5 separate regions of the Homo sapiens genome follow, and regions 1, 3, 4 and 5 are each linked to region 2. Evidence: promoter capture Hi-C in 16 types of primary human blood cells and fetal thymus (Javierre and others, 2016). All regions are on one chromosome and are shown on one strand. Each heading gives the region's core, a stretch centred on a gene start or on the middle of the fragment in contact. The rest is flanking DNA. Distances are from core to core; before and after follow the strand shown. Region 1 has its middle 68 kb from the start of TAB2-AS1. Region 2 holds the start of UST-AS2 (UST antisense RNA 2). Region 3 has its middle 19 kb from the start of TAB2-AS1. Region 4 has its middle 19 kb from the start of TAB2-AS1. Region 5 has its middle 43 kb from the start of TAB2-AS1.

Region 1 (2,700 bases), core at 166-2,665, 160 kb after region 2:
TGGAATATCTTTCTCCACCCTTTTACCTTAAGTTTATGTGAGTCCTTATGTTAGATGAGTCTCTTGAAGGCAGCAGACATTTGGTTGGTGAATTGTTATCCATTCTGCCATTCTGTATCTTTTAAGTGGAGCATTTAGGCCATTTATATTCAGCATTAGTATTGAGATGTGAGGTACTATTCTATTCATCATGCTAATTGTTGCCTGAATACCCTGTGGGTTTTTTTTCTTCATTGTTATTGTTTTATAGGTCCTGTGAGATTTATGCTCTAAGAAGGTTCTATTTTGGTGTATTTTGAGGTTTTGTTTCAAGATTTAGAGCTCCTTTCATCAGTTCTTATAGTGTTGGCTTGGTAGTGGCAAATTCTCTCAGCATTTGTTTGTCTGAAATAGACTATATCTTTCCTTTGTTTGTGAAGCTTAGTTTCGCTGGATACAAAATTCTGGGCTGATAATTGTTTCGTTTAAGGAGGCTAAAGATAAGACCCCAATCCCATCTAGCTTATAGGGTCTCTGCTGAGAAACCTGTTGTTAATCTGATACATTTTCCTTTATAGGTTACCTGATGCTTTTGCCTCACAACTCTTAAGATTCTTTCCTTCTTGACTTTAGGTAACTTGATGACTATGTGCCTAGGCAAAGAGCTTTTTGTGATGAATATCTTGGGTGTTCTTTGAGCTTCTTATATTTGGATGTCTAAATCTCTAGCAAGGCCAGGGAAGTTTTCCTCGATTATTCCCTCAAATATGTTTTCCAGACTTTTGCGTTTATCTTCTTCCTTGGGAACATCAATTATTCTTAGGTTTGGTTGTTTAACAGAATCCCAAACTTCTTGGAGGCTTTGTTCATTATTTTGATTCTGTTTTATTTGTCTTTGTCAGATTGGGTTAATTTGAAAGCCTTGTCTTTGAGCTCTGAAGTTCTTTCTTCTATTTGTTCAATTCTATTGTTGAGGTTTTTCCACGTATTTTGCATTTCTCTAAGAGTGTCCTTCATTTCCAGAAGTTGTGACTACTTTTTATTTATGCTATGTACTTCTCTGGAGATTTTTCCATCCATATCCTGTAACATTTTTTAAATTTCTTTAAGTTGGTATTCACCTTTCTCTGGTGCCTCCTTGAGTAACTTAATAATTGACCTTCTGAATTCTTTTGCTGGCAATTCAGATATTTCTTCTTGGTTTGGATTCGTTGCTGGTGAGCTAGTGTGATCTTTTGGGGGCATAATAGAACTTTGTTTTGTCATATTACCAAAATTGTTCTTCTGGTTCCTTCTCATATGGGTACACTGTGTCAGAGAAAAGATCTGGGGCTCAAGGGCTGCTGTTCATTTTCTTTTGCCCCACAGGTATTCCCTTGATGTGGCACACTCCCCTTCCTCTAGGGATGGGGCTTCCTAAGAGCCAGAGTGCAGTGATTGTTATTTCTCTTCTGATTCTAGCCACCCCGTGGAGCTACCAGGCTCTGGGCTGGTACTGGGGAGTGTCTGCAAAGAGTCCTGTGATGTGATCCATCTTCAGGTGGATACCAGCACCTGCTCCAGTGGAGGTAGCAGAGGAGTGAGGTGGACTTTTTGTGGGAACTTTGTTGTAGTTTTGTTTAGTGTGCTGGTTTTCTCTAATGCTGGTTGTCCTGGCAGTAAAGTTGTCATGTAGACAGACTCAGGACCTCTGGTTATCCAGGATGTTACAGGCAGTAGAGTTAGCTGTTTTCTCCTTTCTTGGGACAAGGCTGTTCTTTTATGAGTTGCTGTAATGGTTTGTGTTGATTGGCCTCCAGCCAGGAGGTGGCGCTTTCAAGACAGCATCAGCTGTGGTAGTACAGGGAGGATACAAGCCTGCCCTAGGTTGGCCAGGTGATGGGTGAAGCCACAGAGCTTCAAAGAGATAATGTCTTTTGTCTTTGGCTACCAGGGCAGGTAGAGAAAGACCATCAGGTGGGGGCAGTGTTAGGCATGTCTGAGCTCAGACTCTCCTTGGGCAAGGCTTGCTGTGGCTGCTATAGGGGATGAGGGTGTTTTTCTCCAGCTGACAGAGTTATGTTTCCTGGGGGATTATGGCTGCCTCTGCTGCATCATACAGGTTGCCAGGGAAGTGGTGGAAAGTTGGCAGTGACAGGCCTCACCCAGCCCCTATGCAGCCAAAAAGGCCAGTCTCAATCCCCCTGTGCTCCCCCAACAGCACCAACTTTATATCCAGGCAGCCGGTGAGAAAACTTTTTTTTAAAAGATCATTTTTCCTCAATTTTAATATTTAAGAAAATATATTTATTTATAAAAAATATTTTTTAAAGAATAAAACATTTTTAAAGTCTTCAAGGCAAAACCAATAACAATGTATTGGCAAAAATCATGATGCCAGAGTAGAGGGGCTAAATTAGCCCTAACTAAAGGATGTGGTGGGCCCACCATAACAAGCTTAAAAGAAAGTCTTAAAAAGATAAAACTGATCCCAAGTAACTTAACTGCTAAAAAGGAAAAAAGTCGGTATTCATTAAAGAAATACAGTAAAATGAGCACTCAACAACGTAAAATTGACAATGGCTAAGATTCAATCAAAAATCACAAAGCATGTAAAGAAACGAGAAGAGATTACCTATAACCAGGAGAAGAATCAATTACAGACTCAGAAATGCCAGAGATAATAGAATGGGTAGAAGGACCTTAAAAGATTTAATATTGAAAGATTAAGATTTTAAAATC
Region 2 (2,700 bases), core at 33-2,532:
TAACATCATTCAGTTTACAGAAACATCACCAATTCACAAGAATTCAGCCTCTAGGCTTGTTTAATTTACTTTATGAAAGCTTAAATTGCAGCATAATATATGTGCGTTTGGCCTATTTCAACTATTACTCTTTGTTTTATTGGAAAACATGTTTTACTCTTGCTTACTGATTTGTTCTTGCGTTGGGATCATCTCTCCTCCAGGAGAAAGCATTTCCAATTTTATTATGAAAGATTAACAGGAAAATAGAACTTCCTTCACAGACATTGATGTTCTAGGAATAACTTTACAAAAATATTTCTCTTCTCTGAAAACTAATATTTAAATAGGTGTAATCTGAAACTACCAGAAAAATTCAACAAACACCTCCAGCAAATAAATAGCTGAGTGTCTGTGATGTCCCTTTCCTGGGGAAGGGCAGTATAAAGATGAAAATCTTGTCTAGCTGGAAGGCCGTCACTAACAGGGCTGGGGCGCATAACCCTGTGGAGACATTTGTGCCCGGCCTTAAAGGGTGCGTAGGAGTTTGCCAAGTGGACGTGGAAGGAGGCATTTTAATAAGAGGAAAATAACATGATTGGAAGCGTGGAGGTGAGAAAGCATAGAAGCACTCAGAGTGAGGAGAGCTGGGGCTTGGGCCAGCCCACGTCAGCCCCTGCCTGCGGACCCAGCCTCTTGGAGCCAGGCTCACTCACCCTGCCTTTAAGACGGCCCTACCAGAGGCAGGAGAAGGATCCGCAGCCTCAGCTTTCTGTGGCGCAACCTGGCACTGAGTCACTCATACCAATCTCAGCGCCAGTGGCCAAGCCGCTGCTGCCGGAGGGCCTGTGTCACCCTCCCCCCGTTTCCCTGCCCTCTTCCCATCCTACCACCACCCAAGCTCCCTGGCTTCCTAACAGTGTGGCAGGGATCCTCCCAGGCCCCCATCCTCCTCCAGCCTGAGTTCTTCCTCCCTGCTGTCTTCCCAGTCTTCCCCACTAAGATCCCACCACCCTTCAGACCCGGGCTCACACCAGCTCCTGCTGGCCCCATGTGCCTCGCACCGAATACAGGAGGTCGCACACTGCATCCCCAGACACCAAGTACTGCCCTGCTTGACCACCTATGTTCCCCTGGGCCCACCAGCATGGACTCTCCTTCTGTTACCAGTCACTGCCTGATCCAGGCATGAGCTGCCTGTGTCCCCCGACATCATCCTCCTGGCACCATCCTCTGCTCTTCCTGGCCTTCTTCACTGGGAGCCTTCGGGATCATCCCTCCAGATCAAGTTCTTCCAGCCCCACCTCCCTCCCACCCTGTGCACCCAGGGAAATTCATCTCTTCTGGGTCCCAACCTTGGCCTCGGGAGAGCCCCAGATGCCCCCCTCTGTGTCTACCCCAGTTACTCAGTGTGGTCAGACTTGGGGGTTGTACAGTTTTCTGTCTCATGATTCATTTCCCCAGGCAAAAAGCTGGCTAATAATATCTGGGTGTGCGGGGGAGGTACCAGTGTGTTTCTGTGTTTGGAGGTGAATTTTTTTCTACTTTAGAATTTAATCACTTCTACTTTGAGCAGTTTTTAGCTGAGCTGACAGTAATATGCTCTGCATTGAGTATTTGTAGGGGGTGGAATTAGTCACCACAAATTTCAATTTTTGGACTTTCCTGATAACGCCACAAAGCTGAAAGGCTTCTAAAGCTTGAGCAAAGATTGGAAACTTGACCCCAGGGGTTGATGGTTGATCTTTATAAAAACGACCTTGTGGTCAGTTTGTTCTTTTATGCTTAAATTGTCAAGGTCCCTGTCCACCCCAGGAATTAATGTGGTGATGTGGAAAGAGCACTAGACAAAGGATTTCAAAACTGTCTTTGGGCCCTTGGCTCGTGGCCTTAGCTCTCTGACATTCTTTGCTTATAAAATGTACCCCCTGCCGGGGCGAAGTACAATCCTTACCCATTTTGCATGACTCAACATTTTATAATGGAAGCTTCTATTTTTGTCTGGCTAAATCTTTTTCAAATAAAAATATTTCTTGGTCTGTATATTTTTCATGTCTCAGACATTTTTATCAATACATAATGTCCTAGCTTTTCACATCTTGCAAATGGCACAGAATTGTGAAAGAATACAGCAAAAAGCTAGAAATATACCTGTGTATATAACATTGCTGGGGATTTTTATGTGTGGTTTCTTGTGGGTTCTAGTAAGCACGTTCATTTCATTACCTACAAACGCATAGAAAAATCCAACATAATCCCACACTGATGAGAAGAAGAGAGGGTTGTTTGTCAGGTGGGGTAGTTTCACTTGACTTGAAGGTCTCACCCCGCCCCTCGTCTTTACCATAGCATACGCTTCTAGATGCTTCTGCTGCATTGTCAACCAGACTCTACCAGAACTGTTTTTCAAAACATGTGTTCCTAGGATTTTACCTCCCTGCATTTTTTGCTATATCTATTAAGTAATGCATGTATATAATTAAAAATCAAATAGTCCTATAAGATGTATAATGAAAACCAGCAGTTTCCTATTCCAACCCTCCCAAAGATGAAGTCTGATGTTGCAGAGCCAATCACTTTCAGCGCAGCTAGATGTTTCTTCGGATAATCACCGCGCTATCTGTAACTAGTATGCACAGGCTGCTGTTTCTTGATTTACTGGGGTCATGATCTCATTCTCTTATTCCATTACCTTTACTTCTACTTCCTTGCTCCTCTCCA
Region 3 (2,700 bases), core at 49-2,548, 210 kb after region 2:
ATATCTGAGCATAAAGAATTCCTTGGAATTTGGCAAGAAATAATATGTATAAGGGTGTACAAAGGTGCTCTTGAAATAATGCTAAGTGAGCAGAATGAGACAAAAACCATGGATAATACATGAGCTTCCTTTTGTTTCTTTGAAACTAAATCTATACAGAAGTTCATTTTTTTCTTCCTCTATTTTACTCATCCCTACTTGCTAATGTACAATCCCACCTCTTGCAAAGTCTTCTTGCATTGTGTTTCTGGAGGCTCCTGAAGGACTTTCACATCTGTTAAGGAGCAAGTCCCTGAAGATGCAATGTGGTCCCTGATGCTGGTTTCCTCTTCTCCAGCTCTGGCCTCCTCACCCTGAGAGGCATTGCACACAGGTGCACCATCTACTATGCACCCCCATGATGATACAATGGAGCTACCAAGGTGCCAAATCCAGGCCTCTTTCCATGCGTAAGTGGAGAGGCAGTCAGTCCTGCCTTTCTCCTGTTTATAAAACCTTCAATGGCTTCCTAAGACCCATGCTTTAACAACAAACCCCTCATCCGTCCTCTAGGCGGCCTCACCTCAGTGGCTGGCAGCTACTACTTCCTAGAACTCACCTCTCCTGGAACACCCCAGGGTGCCCCACACCTAACGGCATCACTTTTGACAGCCAGTCCCCTCCCACTGTGGGTGCTGGCCATCTGCCGAGCATAGTGGGCTCAGGGATGAGCAATGATGCCTGTTCCCAGCAGGCTTCTGCTGGTCCTTCTGCCCCAAGCACCACGCCACCCCACTCCAAATCAATTTGTTTGAAAAACATCCACTTTTTCTTCAAAACTTGGCTCTAAGATTTGTTTCTCCGTGAAGCTTTCTACCTGCTCCCCAGCCCCACAGTGTGTGCACCCCACACTCAGCGTTCCCATAGCACTTTGTTCCTTTTTCCTCTTCCTCTCCGTGGTATTTAGCCTACCTTCTACTAGCACCTACTTATGTTTGCCTGGCTCCCACCTTCACTAATTCGTGAGCTTTTCCTGGGGAGAGATCTTTTCACCATGGGTAGGGACCTGTCTCCCATCACTTTGGAGTTCCCAACACCCAGCACGGTGCCTGGCCCAGTCTGCGTGTCCAGTGAAATAACAAAAATGTAACTAAGAACCAGGAAACTCCACATGGAATCACTGGCATTTCCAAGACCCCCTGGCATCTTCAAAAGTCTGGGTTTCTTTTCTCTTGCTCTAGAGGGCATCTGGCTCCTCTTCTTCTCTACCTTTCTGTACCCCTTTTCTCCCTTTTCTTTACCTGGGAGAGGAGACACAGGGTGGGCTTGCTTCCTGGCTTGAGCTTCTCTGGGGTTCCAAATCGGGGTACATCTCCACAAGGCACAGCAAACCTACTATATTCAAACTTCCTGCAATTAAGACTCACCCTACATGTTCTGGCCCAGTGGCTCAGTGCTGAACAAGGACATTGGCCAGACAAACACCCATTGCCCTGGGCCCTGGCCTCCCAGAATGGCACAAGATCATGGCTCCCCGGCTCCTCCAAGGATGACCATGTCCACCACGATACTTAACAGTTGCCACACCAACCATGTCTGATCAAAGTGATTCTCACTGTGAATCACTGTGAGACCTGAAGAGCAAAGCCTGCACATCCCGGAAGCTGTCTGAGGCTGCTCGGGGCATATTCTCTTTCTCTTTTAAAACACAGACTTGCCTTTGCTACCTTCTGTAGGCTATGTGAGCACAGCCGGATGTCCCATTCAAAGGAAGCTTCTTGACTTACTCATGGAGACTGTCACATCTTAGACGACAGAGCCTTCGCCAATGTTCATGTTCAAAACCATCCCACTTGACAGATCTAGGGCTGAGGGAATGTCTAATCTTAGCAGTAAAACTCACATTTATCATATTCTGATGACCAGTTTAGAAGAGAAGACAGCGGCAGTGGAAATATCTCTGGGACCTCTACAAGGGATTAACTCAACTGACTGTGGAATGCCAGTGCCTCACCAACTGATATCCAGCTATGAATGTATTCTCCATCTAAAACTCAAGTGACTCTTAGAAAGGGATCACTGCAGATACCACACAGGCAGAGCATTTGTGCTTCCAATGAGGCTGGCATGTCTGGCTGTTATCAACACAATTGTCATATGATCGCTTGATAGACAAGCCCAAGCTAACACTGGGCCTAGCCTCTTGGTCACCGTGACTTTAAACCTGGCCTGGAGTTGCCATGACCAGAGCTTACTGAGATTATGTGGTGAGGTCACCTGAGTCAGGAACAGAGCCAGGAAGCAGAGGCTAAGCCATTTGATGGGCAGACCTCTACTCCAGCCACAACATCACTGTCAAAACGAGGTCATGGACAAGTCTAGAATTCACGGTGATCAAAGGTGCTCTAAGCACTGTGGCTGAGGCTTTGCCATAATCCCAGGCTTTCCACAAGAAAAGCATATGTAAATGTTTTGACATGGTGTTGGGATATTTCACTTCAGTTTAGTGAGCTTAGGTACTGGCAAGAAAAACCCAACTGTATTTTATTCGAGCTGCTTCTACACACTTTATTTTGTTCTCTTGTTATTTTTCAATAGTGTTAACAAGGGGTGAATTATCTCCTGAACTTGGCACTTGGTTACTTCCCCAAGGCTCAGAACTGTGAAGTGTGAGTTCTCACTCAACAAATACTTCTTGAGCACCTATATGTGCCAGACACT
Region 4 (2,733 bases), core at 153-2,652, 240 kb after region 2:
GCATCTCTGCAGTAACCAGGCCAGAGAGAGAACCAGCTCCAGTGCCTTGGGGCTCCACAAGACCCCTGGACCCTGGTGTAGCCCTGAGCATAGGGCTCCAAGTATGTTAGAAACAGAATGTCTGGCTTCTCTCTCCACCCCACTGCAGGACAAGGGCTTAGAGTTAGATGAAGAAAACAAAGAACTGGAGGTGTGGACTGATATTGTAACAATATCCCATTCATTTCCCTAATTTTTTTTCTCTTCTTCTGTTTTTTTTTTTTTTTTTTGAGTTGGAGTCTTGCTCTATTGCCCAGACTAGAGTGCAGTGGTGCTCACTGAGCCTTGAACTCCCTTGGGCGGGGGAGGGGGGAGAGAGAGAGAAAGAAAGAAAGAAAGAAAGAAAGAAAGAAAGAAAGAAAGAAAGAAAGAAAGAAAGAAAGAAAGAGAAAAAAGAAAAGAGCACAATTATGAGGGATGGGGTATTTCAAAGGGACACAGGCACTCGCCAACGAAAGAAGCTCCAATGGTCAAGGCAGGAACAACTTGAGCAACAAAATAAATAAAGTAGTTGAATGATAACTCAATATCCTTGAGACCATACTGATGTATATACCTTATTGAATAAATAAATTTATGGAGAAGAAGAGACAAATTTATCATGCAGAATAATTCCAAATAATTTATGTAGATTCTTCCCCAAGAAGGTAGAGCATAACTTCTCACTCACTAACTGTGAGCTGTGCAGAGGGAGTTTTTTCAACACTATACTACAGAAGGGAGGAGAAAAAGTAACTTTTCAGTAGAGAAACCTGCAAACACTACCTCATCTGGGTGTTCAAACTCAGCATCAACAGTGATAAGTCATGTTGATGGTATGTGCTCTTGATGTGATGTGATGAGACTCTCACGTTGACTATGTGGTCTTTTTCCCAAAACCCATAACTCCAGCCTAATCAGGAGAAAAGCATCAAACAAATTCCAACAGTGGGACGTTTCCAAAATAACCTGATCGGTACTCCTCAAAACTGTCAAGGTTATCTGAGAAACTGCTAGCCTAGAGGAGATTATGAAGATATGATGACTAAATGTAATGTGGTATCCTGGGTAGGATCCTGAAACAGAAAGAGGACATTAGGCATAACTGAAGAAATGAATAAAGTATGGACTTTAGTTAATAATAATGTATTAATATTTGTTCATATAGTAACAAATACGCCACACCAGCGTAAGAGGTTAATAATAGGGAAAACTGGGTGTGGGTATATGAGAACTCTACTATCTTCACAACTTTTCTGTAAATTTGAAACTATTCAAAAAATAAACTTTATTTAAAATATAGAAGGCTCTTGGGTTTATTTTAAGCCTCAAAGAAATGAATATAATGGACTAAAAATTGGACAATTTATCACAAAGGCAGATATAGCTTAGTGGTAATAATGTCTGGAAAGAGTATTAATATGTTAATTGGTTTATACCTCTATATATTGGTTTGTATTCTATTGGAAGCCCAAAATGTTATCCAGGAGATATTAATGTGCTAGCGATGAGACATTGTACTCAGTGATTCTAAGAAACATCTATTTACTTTAACAAGAATTTGATGGCTAAAAATGTTTAAATGATTTGAAAATTTCCTTCTGTAACTTCCCTATAAACTCCAAATTTCTTAGGGGTCAATAAATCAATTATATATTTTTAAAAATCCTACCTTCAGCTTTTAAACACTTGAAAAGCTGTCCAACCTCACTCATAAGAGGAATTATATAAAGTGGAATAGTATTTTTATCACATTCATAAAAACCCAAAAGTGATATTGGCATAGCTGTGGAAAAATAGGCACCTTCATACATTGTTGTGAGAACATAAATTGGTAAAACCCCAATGGAGGCGATCTGGCAAAATCAAAATTATAAATGATTATATCTTTTATTCAACAATTCCATTTCTAGGAATTTATCCTACAGAGATACTCACATATATGCTGATATGGTTTGGCTGTGTCCCCACCCAAATATCATCTTGATTTGTAGCTCCCATAATTCCCACGTGTTGTGGGAGGGACCCAGTTGGAGATAATTGAATCATGGGGGTGGTTTCCCCCATACTGTTCTCTTCATAGTGAATATGTCTCACAAGATCTGATTATTTTATAAAGGGTTGCCCCTTTCACTTGGCTCTCATTCTCTCTTGATTGTCACCATCCATGTAAGATGTGACTTTGATCCTCCTTGCCTTCTACCGTGATTGTCAGGCCTCCCCAGCCATGTGGGACTGTGAGTAAATTAAACCTCTTTACTTTATAAATTACCCAATCTTGGGTATGTCTTTATCAGCAGCATGAAAACAGACTAATACACATGCAAATAACATTAGTATAAGTTTATTCATTGCAGTTTTGTGTGTAATAGCAAAAGATTGAAAATGTCTATAAATGAAAAGTCTGATTAAATAAAATAAGATGCATTCCTACAATGAAATACCATGTGGCTATTTTTTTTAAAAAAAGAACAAATAAGCTCTTTATAGATTGATACAGAAAATCTTTAAAATATACTGTTAAGATAAAAAGCAAGATGCAGAGTAGTAGACATATCATTAATATAAAAGGGAGATAGAAATTGGTTCATAAATATATGTTAAAGTGCTTGGAAAGACAAACCAAATATTAACACCAGTGATTACCAATTGGGGATGAGAGATGGGGTGAGGGGTAGGAACTGGGCAAATGAAAGACAAGAGTCTACTTTCACT
Region 5 (2,768 bases), core at 74-2,573, 180 kb after region 2:
CTGTCTCATTTGACCTTCCCTTGGCATTCAGTACGGCTGTTGACCATTTCTTCACTTTCCATTCTGCTGGTTCCTGGTTCTCCAGGTTTCTGGTTCCCCTAACACCTACCAAGTCTCTTTAATGCCTTCTTAAATGTTGCTGTTGCCCCAGGTATCCCATTTAGCTCTCGGCTAATTCATTGAACAAGGCTTTCTTGAATGAGGAAGAACTTAGTGGAAAGGCTAAAGCCAATCAGCTCCTCAGAGTGAAAACGGGCACAAGGGTTGGCACCAGAAAAACAGAATAGAATAAGATCCACCCCTGTCCTCATGGACCTATGCTCTGGATCTCATTTGATTGCCCCAGCATCTACCCAGGCGCCCACGCTGAAAACTGTCACACTCACAGCCAAAAGATCCCCGAATACAGTCACATCTGTCTTTTGAAAATCTTTTGCATCTGCTCACTCTGCTTCCTCTGTGTGGTCATCAGCTGAGTTCCAGCTTTTGTCATCCATCACCTGGACCAATGGCAATAAATCTTCCTTGTTCACTCTGACTCCAGCCTCACGTCCCTCCAATCTTTCCTGCATATTGCATTCACAATGATTTTTAAAACACTCAATGTGGTCACATCATTCTTCATTCAAATCTTTTCAGTAGTTCCCCCATCATCTCCTTACGAGGCTTCTCATGAGCTGGCTCTCACCAGCTTCTCCTGTATCTCTTCTACTACTCTCCTGCGCACATCATAGCCTCCAAAATTAATAACCACCTTAGAGTTTCCCTGAGTGTTGACATGTTATCACACTTACACAGCAATAGCCTTAAGAAATCCTTTACAATCATGTGACTGAGATTCTTCATGTTATCTATGTAGTTTACTTTTTATACCACAAGTCTTGCACATAAAAGCACATTGACTTACTCATCTAACAGGCATCTCAAACTTAACTTATCTGACACAGAAAAACCTGCTCTTTCCTGCTCTTCTCCATCTTCACTGCTCAGGCCCGAAAACTCGGAGGCAAACACAATTCCTCTCCCTTTCCAATATGTCCAAATCAGCTGTCAACTCCATACCCAATATATAGCCCAAAGCAATCCACTTCACTCCATCACCATGGCTGTCTCCACAGTCCATGTCACAGTCTCCAGATGACTATAAAACTTCCCAGCAAGTCTCCCTGCATCCAGTCTTGCCCCCTTAGAATCCATTCTCCACACTGCAACCCACGTGATCATCTAGGAACATAAATCCTATCATGTCACTCCTTGTTTAAGACCCTCCGATGGTTTCCTTGAAACTTAGAGGAAATTTCAAACACTTTCAGAGCCCTGTGTGAATCAGCCACACCCTCCCCACTCCTCCTGTGTACCCCTGTCTTTCCCGCACCCTCTGTGCTCCAGTCACACTGAACTTCCTTCTGTCTCAAACACACCAGCCTTATTCCCACCTCAGACCCTCGCAGTGGCTGTTCCCTCTCCATGAGATGCCCTTCTTGCAGAGGCCGGCTCCCTCCTGATGTTAGATGCCAGCTTAAATATCACCTCTTCAGAAAAGCCTTTCAGGATTACCATGCCTAATGCACCTTCATCACATCACCCTGTCCTATTGGTATTATGGCTCTTACCACTGCCTGACTTTAAATCAGCTCTCTCCCCTCATGAAAGTATAAGGCCCCAAGGGCAGGAACTTGTTTATTACTATATCTAGTGGTGGTATCCAAATTATTTAACAACAGGTCTGGCATAGACTCCAACCCATCAGAAGGGATGCCCATCTGTAAACCCTCAGCTGGCCTGACTGCAAAGTAGTCACTGGACATCAGCCTTCTTGTGTCCTGCATCTGAACAGTGTGACTCTCAATACATGTCAGTTGAATGGGTGAATGAATAAATTAACAACTGTTTCTTGGTTAGGTTCACTGTTCCATCAGGAACACAGGCCTTCACTGTTTTTCTTAAAAAATATATTTATTTATATATTTATTTTTGAGACTGGGTCTGGCTCTGTCACCCAGGTGGAGTGCAGTTACATGATCACAGCTCACTGCAGCCTCAACTTCCCAGGCTCCAGCGTTCCTTCCTCATTAGCCTCACAGGTAGCTGGGACCACAGGCACATGCCACCACATCTGGCTAATTTTTGTATTTTTGGCCGAGATGGGGTTTCACCATGTTGCCCAGGCTGGTCTCGAACTCCTGAGCTCAAGCAATCCACCCGCCTTAGCCTCCCAAAGTGCTGGGATTACAGGTGTGAGCCACCGTCCCCAGCCACAGGTCTCCATTACTAAAGAAGGGTGTACTGAGCCCCTACATGTCCAGGCCTGATCTGCACCCACTGAGAGGCCCCTCGGTTTTCCTGCACAGGTTACTTCTCTTCAGGGACTGTTGTTGTTTTTAAATTTTATTTGAACCAGTAGCTCTGGAATTTGGGTAGGATGATTTCCGCCCAAGTCCTTGACATCCACCAGTGTTTACTTCCTTTTTGTGCATTCTGTGGGCACCCACGGCTGAACAATAGTGAGAGGGGCTCTGAAACTGATTTCAGAAGATGGGGTTCAAGGTCAAGCAATATCACATGCCAGCTGTGAGTCGTCAGGTCTTGGACAGATTATTTAAGTTCTCTGAGTCTACTTTTCCATCTTTAAAATAGGCACATAATAATGGCCTACCTCCCGGGATGGCTGAAGGACTGTATGAGATGGTACACAGCAAAGTATCAAACCAGCCACACCTAGCATTTGAGAGCCATATGTGTTAATTTCATTTTGCTCACCACTTCTC

The links. Contacts are between HindIII fragments. The CHiCAGO score rates a contact against its expected background, and 5 or more counts as called.
Region 1: a fragment that was not itself captured here is called in contact with the fragment with the promoter of UST-AS2 in region 2 in 3 of 17 cell types (naive B cells, M2 macrophages and total B cells); the score reaches 6.2 in naive B cells.
Region 3: a contact is called between a fragment that was not itself captured here and the fragment with the promoter of UST-AS2 in region 2, in 6 of 17 cell types (non-activated CD4 T cells, M1 macrophages, activated CD4 T cells and 3 more). The highest score is 7.3, in non-activated CD4 T cells.
Region 4: a fragment that was not itself captured here is called in contact with the fragment with the promoter of UST-AS2 in region 2 in 7 of 17 cell types (M1 macrophages, M2 macrophages, non-activated CD4 T cells and 4 more); the score reaches 7.5 in M1 macrophages.
Region 5: a fragment that was not itself captured here is called in contact with the fragment with the promoter of UST-AS2 in region 2 in 2 of 17 cell types (megakaryocytes and M1 macrophages); the score reaches 5.4 in megakaryocytes.

What each region holds. Positions count from the first base shown.
Region 1 is chr6:149,188,631-149,191,330 of GRCh38, forward strand. No RefSeq gene overlaps it. Among named protein-coding and RNA genes, the nearest start is that of TAB2-AS1, 68 kb to the right of the region's middle. The HindIII fragment of the contact is 1,996 bases long and covers 418-2,413 here.
Region 2 is chr6:149,031,379-149,034,078 of GRCh38, forward strand. It overlaps UST-AS2 (UST antisense RNA 2), which reads right to left and starts at 1,283. Exons shown (of 2, transcript NR_134599.1): 1 at 1,147-1,283. All of the region lies in intron 7 of UST (uronyl 2-sulfotransferase), which reads left to right. RefSeq lists an enhancer at 1,687-1,876. The HindIII fragment of the contact is 1,599 bases long and covers 78-1,676 here.
Region 3 is chr6:149,237,087-149,239,786 of GRCh38, forward strand. It overlaps a transcript of TAB2 not described here. Among named protein-coding and RNA genes, the nearest start is that of TAB2-AS1, 19 kb to the right of the region's middle. The HindIII fragment of the contact is 905 bases long and covers 847-1,751 here.
Region 4 is chr6:149,274,875-149,277,607 of GRCh38, forward strand. It overlaps a transcript of TAB2 not described here. Among named protein-coding and RNA genes, the nearest start is that of TAB2-AS1, 19 kb to the left of the region's middle. The HindIII fragment of the contact is 3,443 bases long and covers 1-2,733 here.
Region 5 is chr6:149,213,196-149,215,963 of GRCh38, forward strand. No RefSeq gene overlaps it. Among named protein-coding and RNA genes, the nearest start is that of TAB2-AS1, 43 kb to the right of the region's middle. RefSeq lists an enhancer at 1-16. The HindIII fragment of the contact is 7,328 bases long and covers 1-2,768 here.